Regions from separate parts of the Homo sapiens genome. Here all the other regions are linked to region 4. Evidence: promoter capture Hi-C in human tissues and cell types (Jung and others, 2019). All regions are on one chromosome and are shown on one strand. The core of a region is centred on a gene start or on the middle of the fragment in contact, and the rest is flanking DNA. Distances in the headings are between cores, read along the strand shown. Region 1 overlaps CLUAP1 (clusterin associated protein 1). Region 2 overlaps SLX4 (SLX4 structure-specific endonuclease subunit). Region 3 holds the start of KREMEN2 (kringle containing transmembrane protein 2). Region 4 holds the start of ZNF200 (zinc finger protein 200).

Evidence for each region. The method cuts DNA at HindIII sites, captures the fragments that hold promoters and counts their contacts. A contact is called where the count stands out against the background at its distance.
Region 1: a fragment that was not itself captured here is called in contact with the fragment with the promoter of ZNF200 in region 4 in 1 of the 25 tissues and cell types used here (bladder).
Region 2: a contact is called between a fragment that was not itself captured here and the fragment with the promoter of ZNF200 in region 4, in 2 of the 25 tissues and cell types used here (IMR-90 fibroblasts and dorsolateral prefrontal cortex).
Region 3: a contact is called between the fragment with the promoter of KREMEN2 here and the fragment with the promoter of ZNF200 in region 4, in 1 of the 25 tissues and cell types used here (spleen).

What each region holds. Positions count from the first base shown.
Region 1 is chr16:3,520,169-3,523,257 of GRCh38, reverse strand. CLUAP1 (clusterin associated protein 1) reads right to left here. Exons shown (of 12, transcript NM_015041.3): 8 at 1-100. Among named protein-coding and RNA genes, the nearest start is that of CLUAP1, 21 kb to the right of the region's middle. The HindIII fragment of the contact is 3,871 bases long and covers 1-3,089 here.
Region 2 is chr16:3,604,801-3,607,618 of GRCh38, reverse strand. It overlaps SLX4 (SLX4 structure-specific endonuclease subunit), which reads left to right. Exons shown (of 15, transcript NM_032444.4): 3 at 921-1,145. Among named protein-coding and RNA genes, the nearest start is that of SLX4, 5.4 kb to the left of the region's middle. The HindIII fragment of the contact is 4,547 bases long and covers 1-2,818 here.
Region 3 is chr16:2,962,988-2,966,096 of GRCh38, reverse strand. It overlaps KREMEN2 (kringle containing transmembrane protein 2), which reads right to left and starts at 1,822. Exons shown (of 9, transcript NM_172229.3): 1 at 1,483-1,822; 2 at 1,064-1,238. The coding sequence starts at 1,576. RefSeq lists enhancers at 324-443, 46-1,005, 2,974-3,103, 2,590-3,109 and silencers at 804-1,173, 1,244-1,493, 2,024-2,103, 2,654-2,783, 2,814-2,893. The HindIII fragment of the contact is 31,540 bases long and covers 1-3,109 here.
Region 4 is chr16:3,233,765-3,236,898 of GRCh38, reverse strand. It overlaps ZNF200 (zinc finger protein 200), which reads left to right and starts at 1,741. Exons shown (of 5, transcript NM_198088.3): 1 at 1,741-1,912; 2 at 3,063-3,134. RefSeq lists enhancers at 1,423-1,632, 1,643-1,702. The HindIII fragment of the contact is 11,744 bases long and covers 1-3,134 here.

The DNA of each region.
Region 1 (3,089 bases), core at 98-2,597, 290 kb before region 4:
TTGTTCCAGATAAGTCAGATTTTGAAATTTCTCCAGATAAGTGTCATACTGCTTTTGTAATTCTTCCTCAGTCTTCTCATACTCATCCATAAAACATGGCCTAAAAGAAGCAAATGAAATAAAAAGGAAAGGTGAATTATATGCAGTAGTTTGAAATGGGTATTCACAGTTTCAGATTCCATGGTGGCTTTCTCTGGAAACCCTTAATTAGAGAAGGTCCTTCATTCTTGTAATGCTTAAAAATATTTTCCCTTTTCTGCTTTCTCCCCCCAAAATGAACATACTTCTTTTTCATCATAAATAAGATGTGCTCTTTGTAAAAACTTGAAATAATCCTGAAAGTATGAAGAATGACGTAAAAATTACTGATAATCCCATCACCAGGTATAAGCGCTTGATAGTTGACATACATCCTTCCAGACTTTTCTATGCATAAATATAGATAGGAATGCATTTAAAAAAAAAATTAAATATACCAAGAAATTTTATAATCTTTATTTCATTTCAATATACCGTAATCTCAATAGAGTTAAAAATGATCAGGCTGGGTGCATCGGCTCACACCTGTAACCCTAGCACTTTGGGAGGCTGAAGTAGGAGGAGGATTGAGCCCTGGAGTTCAAGGCTGCAGTGAGTGAGGATCCTCTGACCTTGCCGTGGCACTCCAGCCCTCCAGCCTGGGTGACACATTGAGACCCCATCTCTAAAGGCAAAAAAATCACATACCAGACACATCTCTCCAAATCAATAAATATATATATTATTATCTTATTTGGGTATAATGTTCTACTGTTGGCCGGGTGCGGTGGCGCACGCCTGTAATCCCAGCACTTTGGGAGACTGAGGCGGGTGGATCAACTGAGGTCAGGAGTTTCAGACCAGCCTGGCCAACATGGTGAAACCTCGTCTCTACTAAAAATACAAACATTAGCCAGGCGTGGTGGCACATGCCTGTAATCCCAGCTACTCGGGTGGCTGAGGCAGGAGAACTGCTTGAACCTGGGAGGTGGAGGTTGCAGTGAGCCGAGATTGCGCCACTGCACTCCAGCCTAGGCAACACAGAGAGACTCCATCTCAAAAGAAATAATAATAATAATAATAATGTTCTACTGTCAGGATATTATAAATTTAAAGCAATCCTCTAAAAAGGGGACCACAGGTTGTTACGAATTAAGGCTGGTGGTTTTTTTTTGTTTGTTGAGACAGGGTCTCACTTTGTCACCCAGGCTACAGTGCAGTGGTGTGATCATGGCTTACTGCAGCATCGAACGCCTGGGCTCAGGTGATCCTCCTGTCTCAGGCCCCCAAGTAGCTGGGACTACAGACATGTGCCACTATGCCCAGCTATTTTTTATATTTTTTTTTTGTAGAGATGGGGTTTCGCCATATTGCCCAGGCTGGTCTTGAACCCCTGAGTTCAAGCGATCTGCCCGCCTTGGCCTCTCAAAGTGCTGGGATTATAGACGTGAATCACTGTGCCCAGTCTAAAGAGGTTTTTAAACGATAAAAAATTTTTTAAAAAGGCCAGGCGTGATGATGACTCATGCCTGTAATCCCAGCACTTTGGGAGGCCAAGGCAGGTGGATCACAAGGTCAGGAGTTCAAGACCAGCCTGGCCAACATGGTGAAACTCCGTCTCTACTAAAAATACAAAAATTAGCTGGGCGTGGTGGCGGCCGCCTGTAATCCCAGCTACTTGAGAGGCTGAGGCAGGAGAATCGCTTGAATCCGGGAGGCAGAGTTTGCAGTGAGCCGGGATCGCGCCATTGCACTCCAGCCTCGGCAACAAGAGCGAAACTCCAACTCAAAAAAAAAAAACAAAAACAAAAAAAACCATAAAAATCTATACTGGTTTGCTGAACTTTTTCTTTTTTCTTATTATTGACCTTAAAGGGAAAATTCTACTCTTTTAAAAATATAAGCAGATAAACTCAGAAATAATTATAATCTTTTGAACTAGAGCAAAACAAAGAGACTTTTCTGTTAAAATGATTTGGAGCTTAACAAAAATGAATTGATGCTTTAAAAGTGGAATGTGTCAAGGAGATCAATCTATATGGCGGCAATGACTTCTGTTTTTTTTTTTTTCCCTCTCTGAGGCTCCAGAGGTAAAGAGCCAGTTTCAGGAGGGGAAGGGCCTTGGCCTTGCGCTGGGCAGGGAGGAGCCAGGGCGCTCCCTGTGGTTGCTGTCGCTGCCTCCAGGTGCTGCCTCCCCACAGACCTCGGGACAGTGGGCAGGGTGTAGCCAGCCACCAACATCCAAAAAGGCAAAACATCCGAGCAGAGTAGGCAGCTGGGAAGAGGAGGGAGCCAAGAAGAAAGAAAAATAAAGGGTGAATGAAAAGGGAGAAAGAGCAGAAGCATGGGGGAGGGAAAGAGGCACAGAACGAGGAAGAGAAGAGAGAGAGAGCCGGCACCACTATTCTCCATCGGTATTCCTGGGAAATATATTTCCAATGAGGTAACGTAGGAAGAAAGATGAATTACTGACTGGTGAGGAATGATCAAGGTTTAAATAAAGTCTAAAATCTATGCCAACAAACAGGCAGGAGTATGTTTCTGTTTCTACCTAATTTATGGCAAGATCTTAGGAGACCACGTCTGGATTTCCCCGTCTGGATTCACTTACTCTGCCTTGAGTTCCAAGAAGCTATAAAAGCTTAAAGGGCAGTTCAAGCTTTAAGCAGTTTTCCAGACATACCGCAAGCAGTAAAGAGAATGAGTTTAGCCATCTGCTTGTTATGACAGGCAACACATGTACATTTGAGGTGAAGATACCCTTATGTAAGGCTTTTTTTCATTGCTTGAGAAGAGTTAAGATCACATTCTATTCTCTTAAGTCTTTGTTCTAACTTTTTTTTTCTTTTAGAGTCAGGGCCTTGTTCTGTTACTCGGCCTTGTTCTGTGGCTCAGGCTGGAGTGCAGTGATGCAACCATAGCTCACTGCAGCCTCAACCTCCTGGGCTCAAGCAATCCTCCCGCCTCAGCCTCCCAAGTAGCTGGGACTACAGGTGTGTATCACCATACTGAGGTAATTTTTAAAAATTTTTAGAGATGGGGTTTCATTATGCTGCCCAGGCTGGTCTCAA
Region 2 (2,818 bases), core at 11-2,510, 370 kb before region 4:
TGACCTCCCAGGTTCAAGCAGTCCTCCCTGCCTCAGCCTCCCGAGTAGCTGGGACCACAGGCACCCACCACCGTGCCTGGATAATTTTTTAACTGTTTAAAGCAGTTTTCTTGCCCTGCTGCCCTTGGTATACTGAGCTATATGCTTACTACACATTCTTCATGCAAAACTGAAAACTACCCTTGCATATATAATACACCATGGGCTCTCTGAGCTCCTGAGTTCTGTTTCTAAATTTCCTTTGCCCTCACTTCCTGATCTTAATAACCTCTCAGTAGAGTGGTGGTAGAGTCTCAGGTCGCATAGACTACTGGAAGGCATCAGCAGTGTTGCCTCACCAACTTTACTGGTCTCTCGTGCTCTTTGCCAGTCGGATGAAATCTATGCATGGTTCCCCCAAAACACGTATCCATGCGCGTATCTGCAAAACTGGCACACAACTTCATGGGGTTCATGGATCCCCACTGAAGATCATCCGTGGATCCCAAGTTAAAGAAGAACTGATCTAGGACATAAACCTTTGTCATTAATATTTCTTTAATAATAGCTTTATTGGGGTATAATTGATATTCCATAAAATTCACCATTTAAAAGGGTATGGTTCAGTGGTTTTTAGTATATTCACAGACTTGTCCAACCACCACCACTACCTAACGTTAGAACAGTTTTATCATCCTAAAAATAAACCCCATGCTCATTAGCAGTCACATCCCATTCCCCTCCTGTTATTGATATTTATGTCTATATTGCCATAAACAAAGAGGTTACCAACAAGCAACCAGTCCTCTTCACATTTGTGAGTCAAACCTAAACTAGTTGATAAAGGACTCTTGAAACTTGCGTCTAACCTGTATCTGGTAGAAAAGTCTTTTATTTCTCCAGCTACAACAGATGGTTGTGAATATTTTCCTCCTTGCCAGAGAATGTGCCCAACAGCGACTCCCAGCCTCCTCCTTCCTGTTTGACAACAGCAGTGCCAAGTCCCTCCAAACCCCGCACAGCACAATTGGTCCTACAGCGAATGCAGCAGTTCAAGAGAGCAGACCCCGAGCGTTTGAGACACGCTTCAGAAGAGTGCTCCCTCGAGGCTGCGCGGGAAGAAAATGTCCCAAAGGATCCTCAAGAGGAGATGATGGCGGGGAATGGTATGATGAGTGTGTTTCTGTCTTCCACACAGAGATAAGTTAATACAACTCTGAGGAAGGGAGGCGGGAAGGAATCAGCATTTGTTGAGTTTCTTCTGTGGATAGGCTCTCTGCTTGATGTTTTACCTTTGCCACTTCACTGGATCCAGCCAGAGAATGAAGAGTCTCTGGGATCATTTCCCACCTAGCTTCCTTGATAAGGTACCGTTTTGTTTTTTTTTCTGAGACAGAGCCTTGCTCTGTCACCCAGGCTGGAGTGCAGTGACATGATCTCAGCTCACTGCAACCTCCGCCTCCCAGGTTCAAGCAATTATCTTGCCCCAGCCAGTGGGATTACAGACGTGTGCCACCACACCTGGCCAATTTTTGTATTTTTAGTAGAGACAGGGTTTCGCCAAGTTGGCCAGGCTGGTCTCGAACTCCTGACCTCAAGTGATCTGCCTACCTCAGCTCCCCAAAGTGCTGGGATTACAGGCGTGAACCATTGCACCTGGCCCTCTTCCTTTTTTTTTTTTTTTTTTTTTTTTGAGATGGAGTCTCGCTCCGTCACCCAGGCTGGAGTGCAGTGGCACGATATTAGCTCACTGCAAGCTCCACCTCCCAGGTTCACGCCATTCTCCTGCCTCAGCCTCCCGAGTAGCTGGGACTACAGGCTCCCACCACCACGCCTGGCTAATTTTTTGTATTTTTAGTAGAGACAAGGTTTCACCTTGTTAGCCAGGATGGTCTCGATCTCCTGACCTCGTGATCCACCCGCCTTGGCCTCCCAAAGTGCTGGGATTACAGGCGTGAGCCACTGTGCCTGGCCTCCTTTTTTTAAAAATTATGACTTTTTATTATGAAAGCTTTCCCTTTCAGTTTTTTCCTTTTAAAAAGATAACCCTCAGTATTCACAAAGAACTCTTCCTTTCAGAAAAGGTTTTTTTGTTGTTGTTGTTTTAATTACAATGAAGCCAGGCATGATGGCTCATGCCTATAATCCCAAAACTTTGGGAGGCCAAGGCAGGAGGACTACTTGAGGTCACAAGTTCGAGACCAGCCTGGACAACATAGTGAGACCCCCATCTCTACAAAAAAATTTTAGGGGCCAGGCGTGGTGGCTCACGCCTGTAATGCCAGCACTTTGGGAGGCCGAGGTGCGCAGATCACAAGGTCAGGAGATTGAGACCATCCTGGCTAACACAGTGAAACCCCATCTCTATGAAAAATACAAAAAATTAGCAAGGTATGGTGGTGGGTGCCTGTAGTCCCAGCTACTCGGGAGGCTGAGGCAGGAGAATGGCGTGAACCTGGGAGACAGAGCTTGCAGTGAGCCGAGATTGCACCACTGCACTCCAGCCTGGGCAACAGAGCAAGACTCTGACTCAAAAAAAAATTTTTTTTTAATTAGCTGGGCATGATGGTGCACAACTGTAGTCCCAGCTACTCGGGAGGCTGAGGTGGGAGGATTGCTTGAGCCCAGGACGTTGAGCTGCAGTGAGCTGTGATTGCATCATTGCACTCCAGGGCAACAGAGTGAGACCCTGTCTCAAAAAAAAAAAAAAAAAAATTACAATGAATCCCCTAATCCCCTATACCTCAATCTAGATTTAACAAATGTTAACATTTGGCCATTTGTTTATGTCTTTATAAATATACATTTTTTTTTTTTTTTGAGATGGAGTCTTGGTCTG
Region 3 (3,109 bases), core at 573-3,072, 270 kb after region 4:
ATAGCAAACCCAGGCCCGGCCCCGCAGCCTATGCTCAAAGTGGCCTTCAAGGCTCTGTGCCTGTGAGCGGCTGTGCTGCCTGCTGTACACCCACAAATTCCAGTTTTGTCTACGCAGAACTCTGCCTGATGAAGGAACTGGACGTCGACTTCCGAGTGGACAGCGGGAAGTCATTAAAGGGGACTTGAGAGCTGTTTTTAGGCTTCAGCTGTTGCTAGACTTGACTCCATATATGAGGACTTTGAGGCCATCTGTATTCTTCACCCCCACCCGGCATGGGCCTCAGCCACTTCCGTCCCTCAAACCCCACTTTTTTTTTTTTTTTTTGAGACGAGTCTCGCTCTGTCACCCAGGCTAGAGTGCATTGGCGCGATCTCTGCTCACTGCAAGCTCCGCCTCCCGGGTTCAAGCGATTCTCCTGCCTCAGCCTCCTGAGTAGCTGGGATTACAGGCGCCCGCCACCATGCCCCGCTAATTTTTTGTATTTTTAGTAGAAATGGGGTTTCACCATGGTAGCCAGGCTGGTCTCGAACTCCTGACCTCAGATGATCCGCCTGCCTTGGCCTCCCAAAGTGCTGGGATTACAGGCTGAGCCACCGCGCCTGGCCTCCAACCCCACTTAAAAGCAGAAGTGAGCTCCTGAGCTTTGCGGCTCTCCTCCCGCTGGGTCCATCCTGCCTCAGACCGTAGCTGTGGCTCTGAACCCCAAAATAAGTTGTATGACAAGAGCCCCACTCTGACAAGGCCCCGCCCATTCGGCCCCCGCTCTGACCAGGCCCCGCCCATACGGGTCCTTTGAGTGCCCAGGTCCGTTTCTCTCCTGGCCCTGAACTGGAGCTCTGCAGAAATTGTTCACCTGAGGAGGATCCCTTTTGCGCCAGGGTTCCGCGCGCCCCGCCCCGCCCCGCCCCGCCCCTCATTCTGGCCCCGCCCCCAGGTTCTCCAGGAGGCTGGGCTGCCAGTCCACGGCAGACCTCCACCCCGCCCGCACGGAGGCCCCGCTTCGGGCCATCCCTGCAATGGTGAGCCCAGCCTCGCCCCCAGCGCAGGCCCCGCCCCTCACCGGCAGAAGTTGTGCGCGCCCAGCCCCCAGCGGCCGTGGGGGTCGCTGGCGCTGCTGTAGCTGTGTTGCTGCGTCTGGTCCCAGAAGAGGCACGGGCGGCCCGCCCCGCGCGGGCCAGTGCGGTTCTGGTGGCCGCGGTAGTCAGCCCCATTCACCTGGAAGCATTCGGACAGGCCTGCACGGCAAAGGCAGGGCCTGGGGAGGTCCGGACCCACGCCGGGCATCCTCGCGCCCCTACGCCACCTCCCGCCTGGGTCCCCAGCCAGCGACCCCGCACCCGCCCCTGCAGGAGCCCTCGGGCTGCTCAGCTGCTCCGGCCACCTGCTCTGTCCCCCTCCCTAGCCTTGGGGGCCTGGCCCTGGGGGCGGAGGCCGAGGAAGGGGTGGTGAACACGGCCCGACAGCCGTGCGGGGACTTACCTGGACTGTGCAGGCTCCCAGCCGAGGCCCCACGCGGCTGCAGCAGCGGGAGGAAGAGGAGAAAGAGGAAGCCCTGCAGGGCTTGTGTCCCCATCGCTCTCAACCAAGGATAGGTCACCCTCGCCCGGACACGGCCCGGGCTGCCCCCGGGGTCGCTTCGGGGTCTCCCAGGAGACCTAGGGGGCGTTGTCCTCTGACAGTCTCCCCTCGTCCGACTCTGAGCCGCGCTTTCCGTCTGGGGTGGGTAAATCTCTCCTGGGGGTCTTTGCCTCCCAGGGCCTCTGCCCCTAGAGGCGTCTCTCTGTCCCTGTCCCTACCCGGGTCTCTCCGGGGGGAATCTGGCCGGGGGCGTTCTCAGTCTCTGTCTCAGCGAGCTCTGGGCGGTGCCTCAGCCTCTACGCCCGCCCCCTCCCACTGAGCCTAGCTCTCGGCGTCTCCCTCGCCCAGGTCTCCAACGGGCTGACTCCTGCCCGCCTCGCATCCCTCCGTGGGTCCCTCCCCCTGGGTCTCTCCCTCCCCCCATGGGAGGCCGGGAAGCCCCGCCCAGCACTGGAGCGGAGGCAGCAGGTCCAGACGCCTCCCACGCCCGTTCCCCCGACCCCGGGCGTCCAGCGCTTCCCGGCCCCCTCTCCCTCAGGTCGGTGCCGGTTCAAGTGGGAAGGTGTGGAGGGGGACAGGCGGGGCAAGCGGACGGAAGGCCCTTAAAATGGGAGATACAGAACCCCCTCACGTGGTCGCACGCGCCCCAGGACACCCGGAATGTCCGAGTTACAAGCGCCCTCCTCCCAGTGCACGCACGCGCTCGCACTCTCTCCCATTCATTGCCAGGCGCTCACGCGCACACTTTCTTCGGATCCGCACGCCCCTCCCGCCCCTGGTCCAGATGCCGCTGGCCTGACGGAGGAAGCTCCACTCCCTGCCCCCGCGCCCACGAGACAGGCGGGAGTCGTGGACGCTCAGTCCGGGACAGGCAGGGGCAGCTGGTGTCTGGGGAGAAAGGCAGCTGCGCCCCAGGTCCCAGTCTGTCCCCTCCTCCTCCCCCTGCCCCGCCCTTCCCTGGGACCCCCAGCCCAGACTCTCCCGAGCCTTCACACTGCAGTGGAATTCCCCCAGCCGTGCCCCCCACCTGGCGGGGGAGGGGGAGGGGAGCAGGCCCAGGCAGGCGTGGGGGGAAATTCCCCGCCCCCTCCCCCTGGGCCCGACTCCTCCGAGTCCTCTGATCTCCCAGCGCCACCCGCCCGCTGCCCCCAGGGCTTGGGGGGAGGCCAGCGCAGGTGCGTGGGAGGGCGGAGGCGGGGGCCGGGGGAAGGAACTGGTGGGGGCCGGGCGCCCAGAGCGGCCCCGCCCCGCCCAGACCTCTTTGCCCCTCAGTCCAGCCTGCCCAGCCCGCACCAGGCCCTCGCCAAGCTGTCGAGCCCAGGCCGACCAGTCCCCGCCCTGCAGCCCCCACACCGTCTCTGCCCCGGTGTCGATGGAGAAGAAAGATGGGGTTCAGGGAGGTTCTGTCAGGCCCAGGCACCCACTGCGGTGCTGGGACCCGCGAGGATCTTCCAGCTGGCGCCTCACGCGAGTGTGCTCTGGAGGAGGGGCGTGGAGCCGAGGTGGGGGCATTTGAAGGAGATGGACT
Region 4 (3,134 bases), core at 492-2,991:
TTCATTGTTTGATAGGTGAAAAATGTGGTTCCCTTTAAAAGTGATAATCTTGACTAGTAGTGTGGTTAAGCATCTTTTTAAATGTTAATGACCAATTAGTTTTCCTCCTCTCGGGAAGAGCTCCTCATTGCCTTTGCTTTTTGTCAGTTGGCAGGGGTTCATTTTGTCTTAGGAATGTATAATCTTTTGTGTAGCTAATCTTTACAATTATCTTCCAGTCTATTTCTTGTTTGTTAACAGAGTCAAGAAAAAGTTCTTAAAAAATACAATCACACAGGTTTATATTTTACTTCAAGACATCTCAGTTATCTGTTTTGCCTCATAATTCAAACCATAATGCTTTGATTAACGGAGGCTTTTTAGTAAATTTTGATCTGAAAAGGCAGATATTCCTTATTTTTCTAGAATGTCTTGGTGCCACACAGTTTTCATACTCGTTTCTTTGTAACATATTTTAAGCCATCGTCAGCCATTAGTCAGGTATAATTAACTTTAAGAAGAGGCATTCATTTATATTTTTACTTTTGTCAACTTTCTGGAGGCTGGTATTACATCGAGAAATAAGGCCATCCCTGCCCACAAGTTGTCCGAACCCTGATCAGTGCGTCACTGGGGAACGAACCGAGTGTGGATACAACGCACAAACACAAAACTCTGTTCGGCCTCCGTAGGAAGCTGAAATTGAGAAAGGAAACCGAGACAGTAGGAGAAGGGCAATTAAGATGTCTTTAAAAACAAGACGGCCGGTGCGGACAGCAGTGTAGAAGTTAGCAAGCTGGAGTGGGCAATGTCGGTGCCCCATCTCTAACCTATGGGAGTCACCAGAGCGGGGGCGGAGTCCCATGGCGGCCACACCCTGTCCGCCTCCGCAGTCTTTTTACTGGAGAACCGCAGTAAAAGGCGGAAACCGCGGAGGCGTCTTGATTTTCCGGTCGGAGAGATAGCTTGCTTCCTTTAAGCCTCGGGGTAGGGGGGTGGGGAGGGTAGGGGGGTGGGGAGGGTAGGGGGGTGGGGAGGGTAGGGGGGTGGGGGGGTGGGGAGGGTAGGGGGTGGGGGGGTGGGGAGAGTAGGGGGGTGGGGAGAGTAGGGGGGTGGGGAGAGTAGGGGGTGGGGGGGTGGGGAGAGTAGGGGGGTGGGGAGAGTAGGGGGTGGGGAGAGTAGGGGGGTGGGGAGAGTAGGGGGGTGGGGAGAGTAGGGGGGTGGGGGTTGGGGGGTGGCGCCGTGGGGGGTGGCGGGGTGGGGGGTGGGGGGTGGGGAGAGTAGGGGGGTGGGGGGTGGGGAGAGTAGGGCGGTGGGGGAGTGGCGGGGTAGGGGGGTGGCGGGGTGGGGGGTGGGGGGAGCGCGGGCGCTGGGTGGGCGGGGGGTGGGGCGGTGGGGGGGCCTGCCCCGCCCCAACCGCCGCGCCTGACGGTCGTCCATTGGTTGTTTGCATTCGAACTACATTTCCCAGCAGGCCCTGGGGTTAGACTGGCCGCAGCTGGAGAGGTGCCAGCCCGTCGTGGATGACTAGAGCCAACCACCTGCCTTCCGTCTTCCAGGCAGAACCACAGAGAGGCTACAGCCGTCCTGGCCTCCCTCCGGCCCTGAGAGCTCCTCTGGCCTGTCTCAAGTCTTAACGTCTCAAGCGCAGACTGCCGGCTCCGAACGGGGAGACCAGGCTTCTGCACCGGAAACAAGGCACCGGTTGTGACGTCACAGCCGCAGAGCGCCCGACTTCCCAGAAGGCACCGAGTCCCTGCCGTTCTCCTCAACTGGCGGCGGCGCGAACGAATAGTCGCCGGCGACCTGTGAGGGCACTCGGAAGGGCGAGGGGAGGGCTCGACCGCTCGCGCCTAGTTTTTCTATCTCTCCCGGAGCCTGAGTCTCTGAGCCGTCCCCAGCAAACGCTCAGGGGCTGCAGAGGCCCCGAGAGGTGAGGGGCTCCGTGAGGGCGGGAACCAGGCTGAGGCCGCCTCTGGGGAGCGGAGCGTGTCCGTTGCTGAGGGAGCAAGGCCGGGTAGGGAGCCTGGTGAGCGCCTCAGGCAGGGGCGCACGCTGAGCTTTACGGTAAAGGTGTTCCTTGACCAGCGGAAGAGGCCCCAGAGTGAGCCTGGCCCGGCGGTCCTTAGTGGGATGTCGCCTGCCGCTCTCAGCAGAGCTTTGACGGCGGAGAGGAGTCGGCAGGCGGTGTGTGGACACCTCCTCGGCCTTGCATCTGCTCCCCGGGAGAGTCACCAACCGCCTCCCCGCCCAAAGGGCACCGGAGGGAGCTTCGGTTCGAGGGGTACAGTATGGCCAGATTCAGTGACCAACCTGCTTTTAGGCAGATGTCCTCGGTATTGACCCCAGATTTCCTGTCTTCTAGCCCATTGCTCTTTCTCCAAGCCTGATTTAACCTATTCCTGGTGGGTTTTACACACCGTCTTTCTTTCTGTCTTTTCTTTCTTTTTCCTTTTATTTTCTTTCTCTTCCCTGATTCCCTTCCTCCTTCTTTCCTTTCTCTTTTCCTTTCTTTTTTTAGAGTCAGGGTCTTGCTTTGTCGCTCAGACTGCAGTGCAGTGGCGCGATCACAGTTCACTGCAGCCTCGACCTCCTGGGCACAAGCAATCCTCCCAGCTCCCCAGTAGCTGGGACCACAGGCTTGTGTCGCCACGCCCAGCTAATTTTTTTTTTTTTTATGGAGTCGGTGTCTTGCTGTGTTGCCCAGGCTGGTCTTGAACTCCTGGACTCAAGCGATCCACCCGCCAGGGCCTTCCAAAGTGCTGGGATTACAGGTGTGAGCCACCGGTACCTGGCCACACTTTGTATTTCTCAGGAGGCTGGACCTTGGCCTTCTCCGCTCCACCCTTACTCCCTTCCCTTTGGACTTGAGGTTTGCACAGTCTCTGTTTTTCATTCTCAGGATCTTCCTTTCACATCTTCCTAAGCATATCTTGTTCAAATACTGCGTTTCAGTTATGATTTCCCTATCCCAGCTGTCGTTTTCTTTAGATCTCATGTAGCCTCACCAGCCATGCCACATATTGGAGTGCAGTAATGCCGTGCCTGGTCTTTTGGGTAATCCCTGGTTTCTCTGTCTACAGCTTGGCTCTCTGGCAGATTTCCTCTAGTAAGAGGTGGCTCTGGAGGCCCCGCGAAACGAGTGTGGTGTGTGG